3 separate regions of the Homo sapiens genome follow, and regions 1 and 2 are each linked to region 3. The links are contacts of gene promoters, found by promoter capture Hi-C in blood cells and fetal thymus (Javierre and others, 2016). All regions are on one chromosome and are shown on one strand. The core of a region is centred on a gene start or on the middle of the fragment in contact, and the rest is flanking DNA. Distances in the headings are between cores, read along the strand shown.

Region 1 (2,828 bases), core at 1-2,500, 7.0 Mb before region 3:
GGAGCCCAAAGGCCGGGCCGGAGGCGGGAAATGGAGACCCAGGGAAGGGGCGGGGCTCGAATTTGCTTGGCGAAAATCTGCCTTCGGGCAAGGACCTTTCTCTCAGGCATGGGTGGGGGTTGGCAGAGACAAAAGGGCAAGAAGCCGCGGCAGCGACCCGGGGCGTGAGGCGCTCCCCCGCCACGCTGGACTGGGACTGCGGAAGACGCGCTCGTCCCAACCCACTACCACCACCACTAACCCGCTCCAGAGGTGCAGTTCTTTTTTGGCCGGAGTAAGCTGACAAAAACCGCGCCGGTCACAAATCTGTCCCCTCACGCTTCTCCCGGCGGCGACCCACCGCCGCAAAAGACACCCGAGGCGCAGCAGAGGCGCAGCAGTGCCACAGCGGCTCCGCCTCTGCCGCCTAGTTTCAGAAGCTCGCGCCACAAGCCCGCGCTGGCCACGTGACGCCGTGACGCGACACGCAGCACACGCACCACCCGGAAGTCAGGCCTGGGTGGGCCGCTGCGGGTATTTCTCAGTGTGGCGAAAGGAAATTCCTTGTCAGGCATCCCAACCGTCAGTATCTGACCGAATAAAGCGGGAGCTGGAGTGTGTGTTCTCTTCTCGCTGACCCTTAAGAGTCCCAGGCCACCCTGCTTGGAGGGGCCGCCCCTATGCCTACTCCAAGTCCCCCATCCCTTTCTTTTTGCTCCAGCTCATGTTTGGGTGGGCGCCCTCGGGACACGACCTGGGACCTATGAAATACCTTTGTTCTGACCTTAAAAGGGATGTTCTCTCAAGACCTGTTCCCCAAAGCGAGCCGATCTTACAAAAGCTTAGAGTGGTCGGTGTGTGGTTGTGGATGACTTCACTTAGTGGTAGTGGGCGGGGCTGTTATTTGAAATCAGAGGATTTTAGTTCCAGTAGCTGTTCTGCTATTGGGTAGCAGGTGTTCAAGACCTCCGAGCCCGTTTCCTTGCTTGAAAAATTGTGAAACCCATCTTAACTCGCTCATGAAGTGTGAGGTACCTTGCTCCGCAGGGCTTGGTAGTATCTTTTGCTTTTTTTTTTGAGACGGAGTTTCGCTCTTGTGGCCCGGGCTGGTGTGCAATGGCGCAATCTCCGCTCACCGCAACTTCCGCCTCCAGGGATCAAGTGGTTCTCCTGCCTCAGCCTCCCGAGTAGCTGGGAATACAGGCATGGGCCACCACGCACGGCTAACTTTGCATTTTTAAGTAGAGACGGGGTTTCTCCGTTGTTGGTCAGTCTGGTCTCAACCTCCCGACCTCAGGTGATCTGCCTGCCTCGGCCTCCCAAAGCGCTGGGATTACAGGCATGAGCCACCACACCCGGCCCATCTTTTGCATTCTTAGGATTCGGATCACCTGTCTTCCTCGCAGGCTGAACTGGAAGACCTGACTTCATCTCCGAATTCGTTGGTTCTGTAACATGCCTAATACAAGGCTGAATAGGGTTTGTTGTAAGACCTACAAAACCTTCAAATGGATTCAGTGAGAGTTGCTCCCATGGGGGCCTTGCTGCTTCCAGAAGGTGCTTGAGCAGTAAACAGAAGCAACCTTGGATTAGGAAAAGGGTGGGCTCCGCTTGGTTCCTTAGGGACCATTTTAGTTTGATAATCAGTAATCCTTAGTTGTAGAAGGAGGCCTTACTAATGCAGATAGATTCTAAAGCTTTTGCTCTAAGTCTAATTCGCAAAGAAATACGTCTGTGATCCTTACTAATAACAGCTGCCACTTACCAAACATTTTATGAGTTAGGCATTCTGCTTTGGGTTTTCAAGCAATACCATGTTTAATCTTACAGTAATCCTGTAAATTGGTCAGTATTGTCAGATGAGGATACTGAATCAAGTAGTTAAGTAATGTGCCTGGTAGTAAGGCCCAGGTTTGAATTCTAGTCCATTTGACTTCATACACTTAACTAACCTGTGATTTATTTACCCTATAAATCAGAACAATATGCTTTGTCCCCTTTTTGTGGGGGAGGGGTGTCTCACTAGGAGTGGACTAATGAGAACCCGTGGCATGTCACACAAGTCTCAGAAATAACATTTTCTGTCATTTTATACAGCCCCCCATACCTTTATGTTTCTTGTTCTCTTTGTACCAGGGACTTGCAACTTATTAGCTCCACCATAATAGACTTTCTCACCTATTCTCTTCTAGTGCAGCTGCTCAATTTACTATTTGTATTCAATTTACAATATGCTTTAATTTTTCTTAAAAACATTATTTCCAGCTGGGCATGGTGGCTCACGCCTGTAATCACAGCACTTTGGGAGGCCAAGGTGGGCAGATCACCTGAGGTCAGGAGTTCGAGACCAGCCTGGCCAACATGGCAAAACCCTGTCTCTACTAAAAATACAAAAATTAACTGGGTGTGGTGGCATGTGCCTGTAATCCCAGCTACTTGGGAGGCTGAGGTGGGAGAATCACTTGAACCCCAGAGGCGGAAGTTGCAGTGAGCCGAAATCATGCCACTGCACTCCTGCCTGGGAGACAGAGCAAGGAAACTCCATTTCAAACAAGCAAACAAACAAAAACCCAAAAAACCATTATTTCCTAAAAGTTGTATATATTTAATGTGCACAACATGTATATGTACACAGTGAGATGATTACTATAGTCAAGCAATTAACATATCCATCTGTTCACATAATTACCTTTCTTTTGTGTGCGGTGAGAGCACCTGAAATTTCTCTTTGAAACTTTTCAGTATAAAATACAGTATTGTTAACTGTAGTCGTTATGCTGTAAATTAGATCTCTAGACTCATTCATTCTACCTAACTGTAACATTTTAGGCTCTGACCAGTCTCTCTCC
Region 2 (2,751 bases), core at 245-2,744, 5.9 Mb before region 3:
GATGCATAACAAAAATAACTTATAGTTACAGCTAACTATATGTCCAAATGTAAGAACACAACAACCCCGTGATAACTATTATTGCTCCCATTTTAAAGGTGAGTTAACTGAAGCATGTTAAGTAAGCCACCTAAGTGGCAGGAAAACTAGCAAAAGCACATACAATTTACATGTAATGTAAACCTGGGCCTTTCGTCTTGCCTCTGACTTAACCAACTTGTTTTGATAGACAAGGAGGAATTCCCATACTCTTTATGAGTTAGATTTTTCTAACTTTAGGTTACAACTCCTTATTCAATTACACGCTTATCCAATAACATATTTGAACTGTGCTTATACTTCCACATGCCTGACATAAGGTAAACTCAGGGATCAGAAGCAAACTTAAAAAGACACAAAAGGGTATAAAAGACCTGATAAGTTATCAGCAACACAGTTCCACCTTTTCTTACACTGTCTCTTTACTGAACAAAAGTTAACGGGGACATCGCTTCTGAGGGAAAGAAACAAAAGCTGCTTCAGATCAAACAAAAAGCAAAACTTACACACAGTACCAATTTATGGCTAGGAGTGGCAGGGTAGAACAGCGTCGGCTTAAATCAGACCTTTTAAAAATAAGCAGAAAGTGATACCGTGGACAGCCTGCCAAATGACGTCACAACTAAAAATCGATTTCTTAAAAAAAAAAACACCTGACATTTTACTCCACAAGAGATCATCCTGCTGCCTGATGAATACAAGAACACTTAACACAACCCCTTTGCTTTTATTATAAGCGGTTTGAACTGGTGTTCCTTCTCCTAAGTCGTAACGCACCAGTTGTCGGGGTAATCCAGACAATAATAGAAGTGAATACAAAACAAACGAACAAAATGACGCTTATTGCCAGGGAACCCGCGCAAAAGCGCCAGACAAAACCCTACCCAGCCTCTCTCGCGAGTCCCAGAAGACAAAGCCGGGTCCCAGCAAGCACTGCGGCCAGGACTACACATCCCAGCATGCAAGGCGCACACTTCTCCCAGCGGGACTACGATTCCCAACATGCTCTCCGGACAGCTGGCCGGCCTCCCCACCATCCCGGTGTCTGGGGTCTCTGCAAAAATGGGGTCTGTCTCCGCCCGCCCAGCCTCCCTTTAGCGTTAAGGATCGGACACCACCTCCCGGTAGTAAATTGTGACTATTCCGAGTTTTGGAGTCATTCTTCGTTGCCTGTTTTATTAGGGCAGCAAAACGCCTGTGGCTAGGGCGGGAGTGGGCGGAGGCAGGTTTGAGCCAATGGCACGGGAGCGGCCCTGTCGCTGCCATGGCAACGGCGGCCGTTCTCCGGGGACCGGCTGCCCATTGGGTAGAATCTTTCCAGAAGGCTCGAGAAGAAGGAAGCGGAAGTGGCACGTGGAGGGGCCGGTGGAGGCGCCGGTGAGTAAATGCCGCAGATTCTGGAAAGTTCTGATCAGTGCGATACATAAGGCTGAGGAAGTGGGACCTCCCCTTTTGGGTCGGTAGTTCAGCGCCGGCGCCGGTGTGCGAGCCGCGGCAGAGTGAGGCAGGCAACCCGAGGTGCGGAGCGACCTGCGGAGGCTGAGCCCCGCTTTCTCCCAGGGTTTCTTATCAGCCAGCCGCCGCTGTCCCCGGGGGAGTAGGAGGCTCCTGACAGGCCGCGGCTGTCTGTGTGTCCTTCTGAGTGTCAGAGGAACGGCCAGACCCCGCGGGCCGGAGCAGAACGCGGCCAGGGCAGAAAGCGGCGGCAGGAGAAGCAGGCAGGGGGCCGGAGGACGCAGACCGAGACCCGAGGCGGAGGCGGACCGCGAGCCGGCCATGTCGGTGGTGGGGTTGGACGTGGGCTCGCAGAGCTGCTACATCGCGGTAGCCCGGGCCGGGGGCATCGAGACCATCGCCAATGAGTTCAGCGACCGGTGCACCCCGTAAGTGGGAGTCTGCGAGGGTGGATGGGAGGAGGTTCTGGGCCCTTAGTGTGGGGACCCAAGATCGCGGGCTGGCTGTACGGATCACCGCGGCAAACGGAGGCGTTTGGGCAGCGGCGCACCCCTCCGTGGAACTAGGGACCAGCGACCCGGCCAGAGGAGGGATGGGGGGCTTGCCATCACAAATTGGAGAAGGGATTGTCTCAGGGATTCACGGGGGTGAGAGGAGTCCCAGAGTCGAGACTCTAAGGGTCGTCACCTTGTGCGGGCTTCCTATTGGGGGTTTTCAAAACCTACTGGGGGTCGGGCTGCGGCAAAGCCCGCAACTTCGCTCCCTTTTCTTGGCAGGCTGCAGCCTGCGCCTTCCGCGGCCGCCCCCGTATCCCCACCCGGCCTCTCTGAGCTGGCTGAGCCGCCTCCAGCTTGTCCTCCTCCCTTCGCGCATATCTTTGCGCACCGCGGAGCGGGGCTGCCGGCCTTTTTCTTCCGCATTGTGAATCTCGAAATGAACTGGAAGCTTCCAGAGCTTGTGTCGCTGCTTGTCCAGTGAGCAGGCGGATTGTTGTTAGCGACCACGGAAGCAGTCCTATGAAAGATTAGCCCACCTCTTTTTACCCAGTCTCTTCGTTGCTAACATTGTTGGCCTTAATGCCCGGGATCATTGTCGAAAGATGTAAACGTCTTTTTTTTTGCTCTTTGCCATTCATGAGGAATTGTAAACCGTATTTTTAAAATTAATTTTGCACAGTTTATTTAAAAGAGAATAAAAATTGCATACTTTTGTGCTAGGACGCCAAAAGAGGATGGATGTCGTCACTGAACTAAATAT
Region 3 (2,862 bases), core at 3-2,502:
TTGTTGAGCGAGTAGAGTAAGAATAACGGAGGTATGGATGAAAATTCAAATTTCTGAATTGACTGTGTAGTCCGTGGTTCCTCCTCCCTCCCTTTTTAAACTGCAGGTCATGCTTAAGTATTTGCCTTTTAAATCTACAGCCACATCTTTTAAGCTTCAGGAAGTATCTTGTTGACAGTGTGCACACTCCTTAACTTTATGAACCCCTCCACCTTTATCTTAAAAAAAATTGAGTTCTAAAGCTTAAATCTCTCATTAAAATGTCTCACCACTTTGTTTCTTTCTGGATAGTTATGTTTTTGTCGCCACCTGAACTAATGGGTTGCACAAAAACAAGGAACATGCTACCTACGTTTTGTAATTTAAGTAAAAGACAAATTGAGTTATTACAACACAACATTCTCGCATCAGATATACTAATCTGCACATACTGCAGAAAATTACCACTAATAAACACTGTAAAAAAGTGTTTTTGTTTTTTTTAACAAAAACAGATAAGGTCCCATGTGGCACAAAAGCTTGAAAAGCTGGTTAAAAACCACAAAGTTATTAAAACACCGTCATATCCAAAACCGCAAATGCTGCAATGAAATCGGAATTATCTATCATAAAACTCCACAGTATGCTATAATTTCATTCATTCATTCAATGTTCATTCTATGCCTAAGACTGACACATCGCTAAAGCTCCGGGGTAGACCCCAAGGCCCTTCCACGCAGTCAAGACCCCACTAGGTCCAAATAATGCCTGAACTATACGTGGATTCTGGAAACCTCACAGCACAGAACCCATCCCGCCCTCCACTTCACCAGGCCGCGCTGGGCCCGGGTACCGCGGCGAGAGGCCTACGACGCCGGGCGGCTAGATTAAGTGCTTCTCTCCAGCCCCACTGGGAAGGAAGCCAGAGGGAAGAGACAGGATGGGGACACCAAGGGAGCTTTGCGGGGGTGGGGGTGGGGGTGAATCCGGCCCAGGAAGGCGAGAAAGTGCGGTTACCTAGACGCTCCCGTTCCGAAGGAGAAAACGCCGCCTGTGCTGGTCCCGCCGGCGGCCACGGTGGTGGAGCCCAGAGTCCCGGACCCGAAGGAGAACCCTGTGGACATGTCTGGCCAGGGCTCGACGCCGTCAGCAAGGCGAAATGGGTCTGGGACACTTCTCTCGCCTCAAAGCCGAGGCGGGCCGGGCAGCATCTCTCTCGCCCGGCACGGACCTGGCGGGAACTTCCAGCCCCAACGGCGGCGAAGGCAAGGCTGAGGGGGTGGAGCAACCACGCAAAAGTACGCCCGGCGCTCGCCGCGCGCACGTAGCCCGCCGGAAGTGTAACCGTCACGCAATGAGCCCTGGTACGTGAGTGGGGGACGGCGAGCCGCGCAAGGTACGCTGGGACCAGGCGAGAATAGGCGTACTGCCTAATCTCTTAAAGGAGTAGGCTCCCAGAGTTTAAAAACAGTAAAACCATTTCTGTCATTTTTTAGTTCTTCTATCGTAGCATCTGTACTGACATAATCCGCACTTTAGGGTGATGAATGTCAATTGCTACTTCTATCTAGCCTCCTGCCAAAATTGATGCTCAGAATCGCAGAATCGGGGAGGTCCCTCCTGAGCATCTCTAAGCTCCCCACTCAGAAAAGGAGGCGGCTTCGGGCTTTCGTTGGCTGCCGCCCCATCCCTAAGAAGGAAGGGGAGCGTGTCTGCTTCCTGAAGGTTCGGAAATCAATCGAAAATAATCCATGCAACCGTCCCACGACGTGAGCCCCACCCCTGCGCCCCAGGCCTCGCGGAGCCAGTTGGTCGCAGTTGTTGCGAGCCCGACGCCCAGCCCCGAAGGGGGCCCAGAAGAGCGTCCCAGGCGTCCGTGGGGTGGCCGGCTGTGGTCCTGGCGCCCAGAAGTGGCCAGGCCCGCTGGATTTCCTGGGATGCGGTCAAGTCCACAAATACTGTCCGTGCATCCTGATGCTGGAGGGCGGGACCTTGGGCCGAGCGAGTGTGGCTCCGCCAGAAGGGCCCTCGGACACAACCGGTGCTGGAGGAACTACAAAGTGGAAGGATTAGGAAACGCACAGGAACATGTACGAAAGAAGGCGAAATGTGAGGTGTAACTTACATTTCTAGGATAACTCAAGAAAAATTCGCGTTTAAAGAGAACCTCTCTGGCGAAGCATCAGGAAAGGCTTCCTGGTGGTGGTGCATTCGAGGGTTGTCATCATAGTGTTAGTTTTTATTTTTCCCTCAGGGATTGTTACATTACTCCCCCAAATGGTTTTCCTACTCGTGATCTCTAACAAAATCCATCCCATAAGCAACCCCCGGATTTATGATCTAAAAAGCCCAGTGGCTCTTTAGTTTGGCACTTGATGACCTCCGTATGATTAGTCTTTCTAACCTCATCTCACAGTTCTCCCTAATTCAGTACTTTAATCTTCCGTTGAGCTTGGGCATTGCCACCAGCTGTGGACTGAACTATTTCCCTCCTCCCCCAATCCATATGTTAAAGCCCTACCCCACCCCAATATGTTGGTATTTGGAGATGGAGCCTTTGGGAGGTAATTCAATTTAGATGAGGTCACCTTGGTGGGTCGCCCATGGCGAGATTAGTGCCCTTATGAGAAAAAACAACGAAGAGCTTGTTCTCCTCTGTGTGCCATGTGAGGACAGAGCAAGAAGGGGCTTTCACCTGGAACCCAAACTGCCCCATCTTTATCTGGGACTTAGCCTCCAGAATTGAGAGAAGTAAATGTCTGTTGTTATAGCCACCTCAGTCTATGGTATTTTGTTGTATCAGCCAAGCAGACTAATACACCACCTCTGTGTTTGTATAATTAAAAAGAAACGTACATTTTATTTTGTTTTTTAAATTTAATT

Evidence for each region. The method cuts DNA at HindIII sites, captures the fragments that hold promoters and counts their contacts. A CHiCAGO score of 5 or more calls a contact.
Region 1: a fragment that was not itself captured here is called in contact with the fragment with the promoter of NUP58 in region 3 in 1 of 17 cell types (total B cells); the score reaches 6.8 in total B cells.
Region 2: a contact is called between the fragment with the promoter of HSPH1 here and the fragment with the promoter of NUP58 in region 3, in 1 of 17 cell types (total B cells). The highest score is 9.3, in total B cells.

Annotation. Positions count from the first base shown.
Region 1 is chr13:32,313,081-32,315,908 of GRCh38, reverse strand. It overlaps ZAR1L (zygote arrest 1 like), which reads left to right and starts at 546. Exons shown (of 6, transcript NM_001136571.2): 1 at 546-594; 2 at 1,359-1,579. It overlaps BRCA2 (BRCA2 DNA repair associated), which reads right to left and starts at 401. Exons shown (of 27, transcript NM_000059.4): 1 at 242-401. RefSeq lists an enhancer at 1-11, a promoter at 120-616, a cis regulatory region at 945-1,011 and a silencer at 1,130-1,350. The HindIII fragment of the contact is 856 bases long and covers 823-1,678 here.
Region 2 is chr13:31,160,647-31,163,397 of GRCh38, reverse strand. It overlaps HSPH1 (heat shock protein family H (Hsp110) member 1), which reads left to right and starts at 1,494. Exons shown (of 18, transcript NM_006644.4): 1 at 1,494-1,922. The coding sequence starts at 1,816. It overlaps LOC105370148 (a long non-coding RNA gene), which reads right to left and starts at 738. Exons shown (of 3, transcript XR_941825.3): 1 at 1-738. RefSeq lists enhancers at 868-1,137, 1,368-1,487, 1,618-1,697, 1,309-1,854, 1,855-2,400. The HindIII fragment of the contact is 12,297 bases long and covers 1-2,441 here.
Region 3 is chr13:25,300,015-25,302,876 of GRCh38, reverse strand. NUP58 (nucleoporin 58) reads right to left here and starts at 1,252. Exons shown (of 16, transcript NM_014089.4): 1 at 997-1,252. The coding sequence starts at 1,103. RefSeq lists enhancers at 957-1,006, 1,117-1,196, 1,357-1,596. The HindIII fragment of the contact is 2,784 bases long and covers 521-2,862 here.